Linked DNA regions of Homo sapiens: region 1 is linked to region 2. Evidence: promoter capture Hi-C in human tissues and cell types (Jung and others, 2019). All regions are on one chromosome and are shown on one strand. The core of a region is centred on a gene start or on the middle of the fragment in contact, and the rest is flanking DNA. Distances in the headings are between cores, read along the strand shown. Region 1 has its middle 34 kb from the start of OGDHL. Region 2 holds the start of OGDHL (oxoglutarate dehydrogenase L).

Region 1 (4,972 bases), core at 2,221-4,720, 35 kb after region 2:
ATCTCTTGAACCCAGGAGGTGGAGGTTGCAGTGAGCTGAAATTGTGCCATTGCACTCCAGTTTGGGCAACAGAACAAGAGTCTGCCCACCCCCCCAAAAAAAAGCAACAACAAAAATTACACAAGTAAAGATCATTTTGTTTTGGACTGAGTTTACAGTTTTATAACTCTTATACCAAATTTTGACATCTTATAGTATTTGGCAGGGATAAGTTTGAAACTGCTTCCATCATTCAATGGAAACAAAAATGCTGACAATTCTTAAGACACATCTAAAATTTACTAATAATTTTAAAGCTGGCTTATTTATTAAATATTTTACTTATGTCACATGAAGTTGAAAAACATTTGGGTTTATTATTTATGAGTACTCTTTAACTTTAAGCCAATTTGGTACATTGTGGCCACAACACATAAAGTACATGTACATATACATAAACACACATACCACTCATACAAAAATCCTGTTGCTTTTACTTCAGAATTCTAGACATGAGATATTAATACGAACTCACCAGTTTACAAAAACAAACAAATGGCCTGGCACAGTGGCTCATGCCTATGATCCCGATACTTTGGTAGGCCAAAGTGGGCAGATCGCTTGAGCCCCAGGAGTCCCAGACCAGCCTGGACAACTCAGTGAAACCCCGTCTCTACAAAAAAATACAAAAAAAAAAAAAATTAGCCAGGCATGGTGGTGGGCACCTGTGGTCCCAGCTATTCAGGAGGCTGAGTTGGGAGGACCGCTTGAACCGGGGAGACAGAGGTTGCAATGAGCTGAGATCATGCCACTGCACTCCAGCCTGGGTAACAGAGCCAGACCCTTCTCAAAAAAAAAAAAAAAAAAAAAAAAAAAGCCAAATAAAATGGTTGAATCCAAGCAGTGATTTTTTTTAATCTCAGCAGAATAGTAACAACAGATTTTAAGCAGCAAAAAATAAAACAGAGAAATAGAGAACTTAAGAACTCCGTAGTTGCAGGTGGACCATTGGGCTCTGAATTTTTCCGTGATGTAATTTACCCATCAGTTCAAAATGTGCACAACAGACCATAGTATGTAACCAGCTCGACTACTAGAAAACCTGGCGTGCCTTTGGACTTTTCGTTTACTTTTCTTTCTTTTTTCTTTCTTTCTTTTTTTTTTTTTTTTTAAGACAGGGTCTCTCTCTGTTGTCCAGACTGGAGTGCAGTGGCGTGATCTCAGCTCACTGCAATTTCCACCTCCCAGGTTCAAGCGATTCTCCCGCCTCAGCCTCCTGAGTAGCTGGGATTACAGCACCTGCCATCATGCCCGGCTAATTTTTCTATTTTTTGGTAGAGACCAGGTCTCACCATGTTGTCTTGAGCTCGAACTCCTGAGCTCAAGCATCCTTCCACCTCAGCCTCCCAAAGTGTTGGGATTACAGGTGTGAGCCACTGCACCCAGCCAGACGTTTTTTTTATTTCGTACAAACACTTGCAAGTAGAGCTGCCATAAAACCAATGGGCTGTCCAAAAGGCGGTTGTTGTTTTTTTTTTTTTTCCTCATTCTTAGATTATTTGTGTCCCACTTTTTTTTTTTTTTTAAGGAGGAACTGAGCTGTGGCCTAGGGTTTAGTATGGTGGCTCAAAATGTGCTGCTTGTGGGCGGGACTCCAGTGTGTCACTACTGAGTCGTTTCTGCCCGCTAATGTGTGTCAGTTTCCCTCTCCGGAGGTCTGTCATCTCCAAGAGGGCTTGAAACACAGAGTTATCAGCTCTTATATGCATTTCCTGGGTGTGCTTTTGAAACTAATTTTGTTGGAGGATTCCCTGCTGCAGGGCCGCTGCATATTACAAGGAGTCAATCCCTTAGAGGCTCCCACTCCAGCCCCTTGTCATCTAGGGTCACCTTCAGGCTGAGAGGAGCAAAATCCCCTCTCTCTTCAGAGCTAAGGAGCTCAGACTCTCATTTATCTATGAAAAGGGCAGTTCAGTTGCTCATGCAAATGCACAGACAAGAAAATTGAGCTTAATTTTGGGAGAAAAAGCAATGGAGAAGACCCTTTAGAATGCAACTCTGAACTAGAATTAGGATCCTAAACAATTTCCTAGGCGGAAAAAAAAAAAAAACCAGCTCAAAATAAATCAAGGATCATTTATAAACCAAAGGGAGGTCCAGGACTCGTGAAGACTTCCCAGTTCCACTGGAGGAGAAGCTCGAAGTCGGGAAGGTTTCAATGGGCCCCTGCTGGTACCTTAGCTCCAAGAACAGGCAACTCCTTCTGGGTCATGAATCTTCTCTGAGGCCCCACGTGTTTGGGCACCAAATTACTGTTGACAAAAAGAGCCAAACCCTGTAAAATATTTGAAGAGATTTGTTCTGAGCCAAATATGAGTGACAGCCCGAGGAGATCCTGAGAACATGTGCCCAAGGTGGTCATCGTGCAGCCTAGTTTTATACATTTTAGGGAGACGTGAGACATCATTCAAATACGTGTAAGATTTACATTGGTTCAATCTACATTGAACAGGGAGTGGTGGGAAGACTTCCAGGTCATAGGTAGACTTAAAAATTTTCTAACTGGCACCCAGGTGCCATAGCTCATGCCTGTAATACCAGCACTTCGGGAGGCTGAGGCAGGAAGATCACTTGAGGTCAGGAGTTCAAGACCAGCCTGGCCAACATGGTGAAACCCCATCTCTACTAAAAATACAAAAATTAGCTGGGCGTGGTGGTGCGCACCTGTAATCCCAGCTACGCAGGACGCTGAGGCTGGAGAATCGCTTGAACCCAGGAGGCAGAGGTTGCAGTGAGCAACCACTGTTCTACTGTGTGGAGATCGTGCCACTGCACTCCAGTCTGGGCAACAAAGCAAGACTCCGTCCCAAAAATAAATAAAATAAAACAAAATAAAATTTTTCTGATTAGCAATGGGTTATTATCAATGGAAAGGAAAGTTTGGGTTATGATAAGGGGTTTTATCATGCAGATGAAGCCTCCAGGTAGCAGGTTTCAGAGAGAACAGATTGTAAATATTTCTTATCAGACTTAAAAGAGGTTTATCAGTAATTCCAAAAGGGAGGGGGTATAAACGAGGCATGTCTGGCTACCCTTCCCATCACGGCCTGAACTAGGTTTTTTTGGTTTGGTTTTGTCTTTTTGAGACAAGGTCTCATCTGTTGCCCAGGCTGGAGTACAGAGGCACAATCTTGGCTCACTGCAACCTCCACCTCCCAGGTTCAAGCAATTCTCGCATCTCAGGCTCCCGAGTAGTTGGGACCACAGGTGTGAGCCATCATGCCCAGCTAATTTTTTTGTATTTTTGGTGGGGATGGGGTTTTACTATGTTGCCCAGGCTGGTCTTGAACTGAGCTCAAGTGATCCACCTGCCTTGGCCTTCAAAAGTGCTCGGATTACAGGTGCGAAGAACCACCCCCAGACTGAAGTAATTTTTCAGGTTAACTTTGGAACACCCTTGGCCTGGAAGAGGGGTCCATTAAGATGGTTAGGGGGCTTAGAATTTTATTTTTGGTTTATGGAGTCTGGAGATAGATTCACACACCTTCATTAATTTTTTTTTTTTTTTTTTTGAGACGGAGTCTCGCTCTGTCACCCAGGCTGGAGTGCAGTGGTGCGATCTCGGCTCACTGCAAGCTCCCCTCCTGGGTTCATGCCATTCTCCTGCCTCAGCCTCCCTAGTAGCTGGGACTACAGGCGCCCGCCACTACACCCAGCTAATTTTTTTGTCTTTTTAGTAGAGATGGAGTTTCACCATGTTAGCCAGGATGGTCTCCATCTCCTGACCTCGTGATCCACCTGCCTCAGCCTCCCAAAGTGCTGAGATTACAGGCGTGAGCCCCCCTGCCCAGCACCTTCATTAATTTTTGATGAAGTTCCCAAGGCAATTCAATGAGGAAAGAAGTCTTTTCAACAAGTGATGCTGAAATAAATGAACATTTATGCAAAAAAAAAAAGAACCCTGACCCCTACTTTATCACATATACAAAAATTTACTTGAAATGGATCTTAGACTTAAATTTAAAACCTAAAACTCCAAACTTTTAGAAGAAAATATAGGAGGAAAATCTCTGTGAACTTTGGTCAGGCAAAAATGTATTAGATAGGACACAGGTGGCACAGGCCATTACATTTTTGAAATAAATTTTACTTTACCTTACTTTTAAAAAGCCTGTTGAAAGACACTGTTAAGAAAATGAAAAAATAAGACACTGACTGAATAACATATTTGCCAAACACATATCTGATAAAGGATTTATATCCAGAAAACATAAAGAATATTTAAAATTTAATAATAATTCCAGTGAGTTTAGCTAAAATTAAGAAACCTGGCCGGGCATGGTGGCTCATGCCTGTAATCCGAGCACTTTGGGAGGCCAAGGTAGGCAGAATGCTTGAGCTCAGGAGTTTGAGACCAGCCTGGGCAACATGGTGAAATCCCATCTCTATAAAACATACTCGAGTTAGCCGTGCATGGAGGCACACTCCTGTAGTCTCAGCAACTTAGGAGGCTGAGGCAGGAGGATCACTTGAGCCTGGGAGTCAGAGATCACAGTGAGCTGAGATCACTTCACTGCACTCCAGCCTGGGCGATGGAGCTAGACTCTGTCTCAAAAATAAATAAATAAATAAATTTAATTTAATTAAGAAACCCAAGGATACCAAGTGTGGGTGAGTATTCAGGGCAAATACCATTCTCATATACTGCTGGCGAAAGGACAAAATAGTGCAGCCACATTGGAAAGCACTTTGGCAGTTTCTTTTAAAGTTGACTATACAACCCAACCATCCGACTTTTGGGGTTTTACCCAAGGGAAGTGAAAATACATATCCACACAAAGCCCAAATGTTTCTAGCGGCTTTATTCATAACCACGAAAACCTGGAAACAACCCAGTGTCCATCAACTGGTGAATGAATAAACAAATTATGGTACCTCTATACAATGGAATACTGCTCAGTAATAGGAATGAGTTACTGATAACTGATATGCT
Region 2 (5,565 bases), core at 3-2,502:
CAGCAGGGCATGAGGGCTCAGTATCTAGAGCCAGAGCCCAAGCCAGCCCTACTAGTTCCTGCCCATACAGTCAAGGACAGCAACAAGGAGTGAGAGTCAGGTGCCCTGTGCAACCCCCTGCCCAGTCCAGACTCCAGCAGAGTTGCCCTGGGTATCTCTTGGGGGTCTCTTCTCTGAGGACAAGGTCACATAGCATCCCCAACCCAACCTCAGAACCTCAACCCAACCCCAGAAAACTGCCGACACCATGGCCACTAAGACTCCCACACACACAACCCTGTCTGGGGTGCCCTAGTGAGGACTACTCCCTAATGCACCCATTGCAGAGATCAGTAAACAGAGGCCGGGAAGGGTTCTCCCCAGAGGGCCCTCCAAGCTGGGCAGCAGCAGAGCCTGGATTCTCTCAGCAGCAGGTCTACTCTGACCCCACTTTCTGAGAAGCAGATGAGCTTTTGCTCAGCAACAAACCGCAATTCTATTTAGTTGGGGCCTGTTCCAAGACACTGGGGAGGGGCTGCTAGGGCCTGCTTGAGCCAGGTGGCCGAGGGGCGTCAAAGGGTCTCTCCGGTTCGGCGAATGCGTACTGCAGCCTGCTGTGGCCTCGGGATTACCCCGTCCCCCTCCCACATCTCCCGGGGGGCGGAAGAAGCGCATCCCATGCAAGCAGCGACCTCAGGCCATGCCGCCCTCTCTCAGGCCTCAGTTTTCTCATCTGTAATCGGAGACCGCGGTTAAAACCGTCTATTAGGCTCCTTGGTAGTCCGAAGCTGCCTATGGGTCCCGCCAGGTGCACAGCGCTGACCCTCCCCATCCCCCGCACAGCCCTCGCAGCTCCGGGCCCTCCCCTGGCCACGGAAGGCGCGGGGCAGTCTGAAGTCCTCGGGCTGGAGAAACCCACCGCGAGCACCCGCTCCTCTGCGCAGGACCCTGGACTAGCCGGGTGGTACGCGCGCGATGGGCTGGGGGTCCCGGGGGAGGCCACGGCCAGCCAAGGTCAGAGCCAAGGTCACAGTCTGTTCCTCCTCCCCCTCCCCCCGGCGGGGCCAGACTCAGGGCTGCGGGCAGCGGCGCCCCAGGACCCAGGAGAGAGGAGCTGTGGGGCCGGTCCCCAGGACGGCAGGAGAAGCAGCGGCGCAGGGACCGGGAGGGGGCGGGCCGCCGCGCTCACCGGGCGGGCGGGCCGGGTCCGCGCTGCAGCGAGGTCCGGAGGCTGCAGGTCAGGGGGCTGCGCGGAAGGGGTGCGCGCGCGCCGTGCCAATTACCTGGGTCACGTGACGCAGCCGCCCACGGGCGCGCGCCCCTGAGACTCCGCGCGTCGTGACGTCTCCATGGATGCCCCGCCCCGCTCCTGGCGCTGTCCACGGTGCTGGCGGCCCAGGCCCGAGGTCGCCCACGGCCGAAGGGGGGACTCCTCTCTGAGACCGCAGAACGGGGCTGAGGCCCTGAACCCCGTGTGCTCGTCCTAAAACTAGGACGAATGTACCAGACGACAAGCAGCCTTTGTGTGTAGGAGAGGATAGGTTTTGTTTTGTCGTCTGTAAAATGGGAATGCTATGAAAAGTTCCACTATCTTAGGGATGTTTTGAAAAAAAGATGAGATAATGCGTGAAAAGTGCTTACCCCAAATCTGATACACATTTTACCCATTCATCCTCCCACTGATGGTGACCCAGGCTGTCCTCACCACCCCGTGGCCACAAACAAGGCTGCAATGAACTTCTTCATACACATTCCCTTAGGATCCTGCGTGGAACTTTCTCTGGGATAGAGATCAACTTTCTAATTATTATCAGAATAGCAGATGCAATGTCCTGTTATTGTTTTAATCTGCATTTCTCTGGTTATCAACCATTTGCATCTCCCGTTGTTTGTTAGTTTGGGGTTTTCTGTTGTATTTTTTTCAGCTTTCTGTTGGGTTTTGTTCTCATTTAAATGCAGGGATTTCTTGTATAGGAACATAACATACCTGTGGTTCAAGTTGCCATCAAATCTCTCCTGGATTATCGCAGCAGCCTCCTAACTGGCTTCTCTGCTTCTACACTTACACTCTTGAATTTTAATCTCAAAACTACAGTATGCACTTCACAAGAATATATTCAAGTACATATCAAACCAATTAATATGGTTGCTTGTCGAGGGAGGAGGATGGGGAATGTGGATATGAGGTAATTAATCAATTACCCAGATCACTGCTGACAGAGTGCCACGAAGAAAGGAATACAACTAACTTCTGCACCTGAAGTCTCCCAAAAGTTCTTTATTTGGAGACAGTTAGGGATACATGTGGTCAAGAATCTTCAGCACTTAACACAGCACTATCATGGTATTTTTCAGTAAATATTTGTTGAATGAATGACTGAGTGAGTAAATGGACACTTGACTTGGATCCTGAAGGATGAGTAAGATTTTATCTGGTGCAGAAGGGCAGGGTTCATTGGGAATTCTTTGGACACAAGCACCAAAAATGACCTGGCTAGCTTCAGCCGAAAACGAGTTGATATGAAGGTTGTATATAAGGCAACTCACAGAATCAGAGGAAAGCTGAAAATTTACTTCAGGAAGCAGGGCTGAGCCATAGAGGAACTGTCTCTTCAAGGCTCTTCTGTTTTTCAAAATTCAAATTCCGGGTGAGAGGCAGTAATGTACTTGCAGTAGAGACGGAGTAAGGTGGCCAGATTTGAGAGACTTACGGGGATCAGCTCCACGGGGTTTAGTGGTTGACCAGATATGAGGGTGGAGACATAGATAACTCACAGGTGTCTGGCTTTAGTGACTTGGGCACAGTGGAACTTCTCAGTGAGCTAGGGAAAAGGAGAAGCTGCAGTTTGGGGTAATAGTGGAAAAGTTTACAAGTCAGAGTCACCGATTAAGAAAGATGGAAAGCCTGACACAGAGCAGCAGGCAGGAACAAGGCTCTTGCAAATCAAAAGGCTTCAGAGCCTTTCAGCCTTCCAGCCTAATTGGTGTTCTGCTAATTGCATTGATTAAAGCAAACATTTGGGGCAATCAACGCTCCCATGAGGGTGGCTGCCATTCTCAGAAGCCTGAGAGGATTAGTGGCAGTGGCTGTAGGCTTTGCAGAGATCTTCAGAAACAGACACCTTTCTTTTTTTCCCATGCCTGTGGCGTGTGTGTGTGTGTGTGTGTGTGTGTGTGTGTGTGTGTGTCAGAACATGGAAGTTTTTATTTATTCTAGTTGTACAGAACTTAAATGATACAGAAGGATACAGAACAAAATGTGAAAAGCCCCCTTCCACCTGCCCCAACCTCACCTCTTTTTTTTCCTTCCAGAGATAACTACTGGCCAGTTTGGCAAACATTTTTACAAAATTGTTTATGTATTTATATCCATATGCTTCTACAAACATATACATAAAAATATGAAATGGATCACACTAGAATATAGTTCCACGACTTGTTTCTTTTTTTCCCTTGTCTTGAAGATTTTTATTTAAACTCAGTATGTGTAGGACCACCTCATTCTTTTTCATGGGTATGTTGTATTCATTATAGGGATGTATGGTGACTGTATGTCACTTCTCTCCCATTGAATGAACATTTCCATTTCTTTTGACATTTACAGAAAAAAAAGGAGAAAAGAGTCCTCCTATATATTCCCTTTAGTACATGCAAAACTACTATGGTAACATTGATTTCTCTTTCTTTCTTTCTTTCTTTCTTTTTTTCTTTTTTTTTTTTTTTTTCAAGATGGAGTCTTGCTCTGTCACCAAGGCTAGAGTGCAGTGGCTGGATCTCAGCTCACTGCAACCTCCACCTCCCAGGTTCAAGCAATTCTTCTGCCTCAGCCTCCTGAGTAGCTGGGATTACAGGCTCCCACCACCATGCCTCGCTAATTTTTTTATTTTTAGTAGAGATGGAGTTTCATCATGTTGGCCAGGCTGGTCTTGAACTCCTGACCTCATCATCCCCCACCTTGGCCTCCCAAGTGCTGGGATTATGGGAGTGAGCCACCATGCCCAGCCTGATTTCTAAATTAAGTTTAACAATGGGTCAAAAGATATATATTCTTTGCAGTTTAATATGTATAATAAATATCTAGTAAGACCGTTCCACTGAATACTTCCTCATTAGTGTTTTTGAGTTCCCACTCCCTTACATCCTTGCCAAGATTTATTATCAGTTTTCTTTCATTTATGCCAGTCTGATAGGTGAAAAATCACATTTTGTTTTAGTTAGCATAAAACTGATAAGCGAGTTTGAAAATCTCTCTTTTTTTGAGGTGGAGTCTCGCTCTGTCACCTAGGCTGGAATGCGATGGCGTGATCTTGGCTCACTGCAAACTCTGCCTCCTGGATTCAAGCTATTCTCCTGCCTCAGCTTTCCAAGTAGCTGGGACTATAGGCACACACCACCATGCCCAGCTAATTTTTGTATTTTTAGTAAAGACAGGGTTTCATCATGTTGACTAGGCTGGTCTTGAACTCCTGACCTCAAGTGATCTGCCCGCCTTGGCCTCCCAAAGTGCTGGGATTATAGGCATGAACCACCGCACCCGGCCTGAAAATCTTTTTATATGTTTTTATATGTTTCTTTTTATATGTTTCTTATTTTGTATTCTTTTTCTACAAATTGCCTATTGATAGACTTTGCTCATTTTTCTATCAGGTTGTTTATATTTTGCTTGAATTCACATAAACTCTGTACATATTCTGAATAAGAATATTTTGTAGGTTGTAAATGTTGCAACATTTCTCCCAGTCTGTCACTTGTCTTAACTTTGTTTATAGATGCTTTGGCCACATTTTCATAGCTTTGATTACAGTCTATTATTATAATTTTTCTTTTATAGTCTTACTTATTGTTGTTAATCTCTTACTAGGCCTAATTTATAAATTAAACTTTATCATAGGTATGGGCCAGGCATGGTGGCTCACACCTGTAATCCCAGCACTTTGGGAGGCCAAAGCAAGTGGATCACCTGAGGTCAGGAGTTTGAGACAAGCCTGGCCAACATAGTGAAACCCCATCTCTACTAAATATACAAAAAATTAGCCGGGTGTGGTGATGGTTGCCTACAATCCCAGTTACTCGGGAGGCTGAGGCAGGAGAATCACTTGAACCCAGGAGGTGGAGGTTGCAGTGAGCTGAAAGAGTGCCACTGCATTTCAGCCTGGGCAACAGAGTGAGACTCCATCTCAAAAAAAAAAAAAAGAAAAAGAAAAAGAAAAAAAAATTATCATAGGTATGTATAGGAAAAAACAGGGTATATATAGGGTTTGATACTATGTGAGGATTTGGGCATCCATGGGGGCCTTGGAACGTATCTCCCCAGGATAAGCACAAACTACTATATAAAACATTTCTATCACCACAAGGATCCCTCAAAATGCCCTTCTATAGCCACACCTATTTCCCTCCCACATCACCTCCTCCTTAACCCCTCCAAACCATTAATCAGTTCTCCATCTCTATAATTTTGCATTCAATAATGTTATATGTAAGTGGCATTATAGGGTAGGTAGGCTTTTAGGATTAGCTTTTTTTCATTCAGTATAGTTCTTCGGAGATTCATGCAGGTTGTTGTGTGAATCAGTCATTTGTCTC

What was found. The method cuts DNA at HindIII sites, captures the fragments that hold promoters and counts their contacts. A contact is called where the count stands out against the background at its distance.
Region 1: a fragment that was not itself captured here is called in contact with the fragment with the promoter of OGDHL in region 2 in 1 of the 25 tissues and cell types used here (stomach).

What each region holds. Positions count from the first base shown.
Region 1 is chr10:49,793,685-49,798,656 of GRCh38, forward strand. No RefSeq gene overlaps it. Among named protein-coding and RNA genes, the nearest start is that of OGDHL, 34 kb to the left of the region's middle. The HindIII fragment of the contact is 7,341 bases long and covers 1-4,972 here.
Region 2 is chr10:49,761,071-49,766,635 of GRCh38, forward strand. It overlaps OGDHL (oxoglutarate dehydrogenase L), which reads right to left and starts at 1,253. Exons shown (of 23, transcript NM_018245.3): 1 at 1,169-1,253. RefSeq lists a silencer at 1,004-1,213. The HindIII fragment of the contact is 26,824 bases long and covers 1-5,565 here.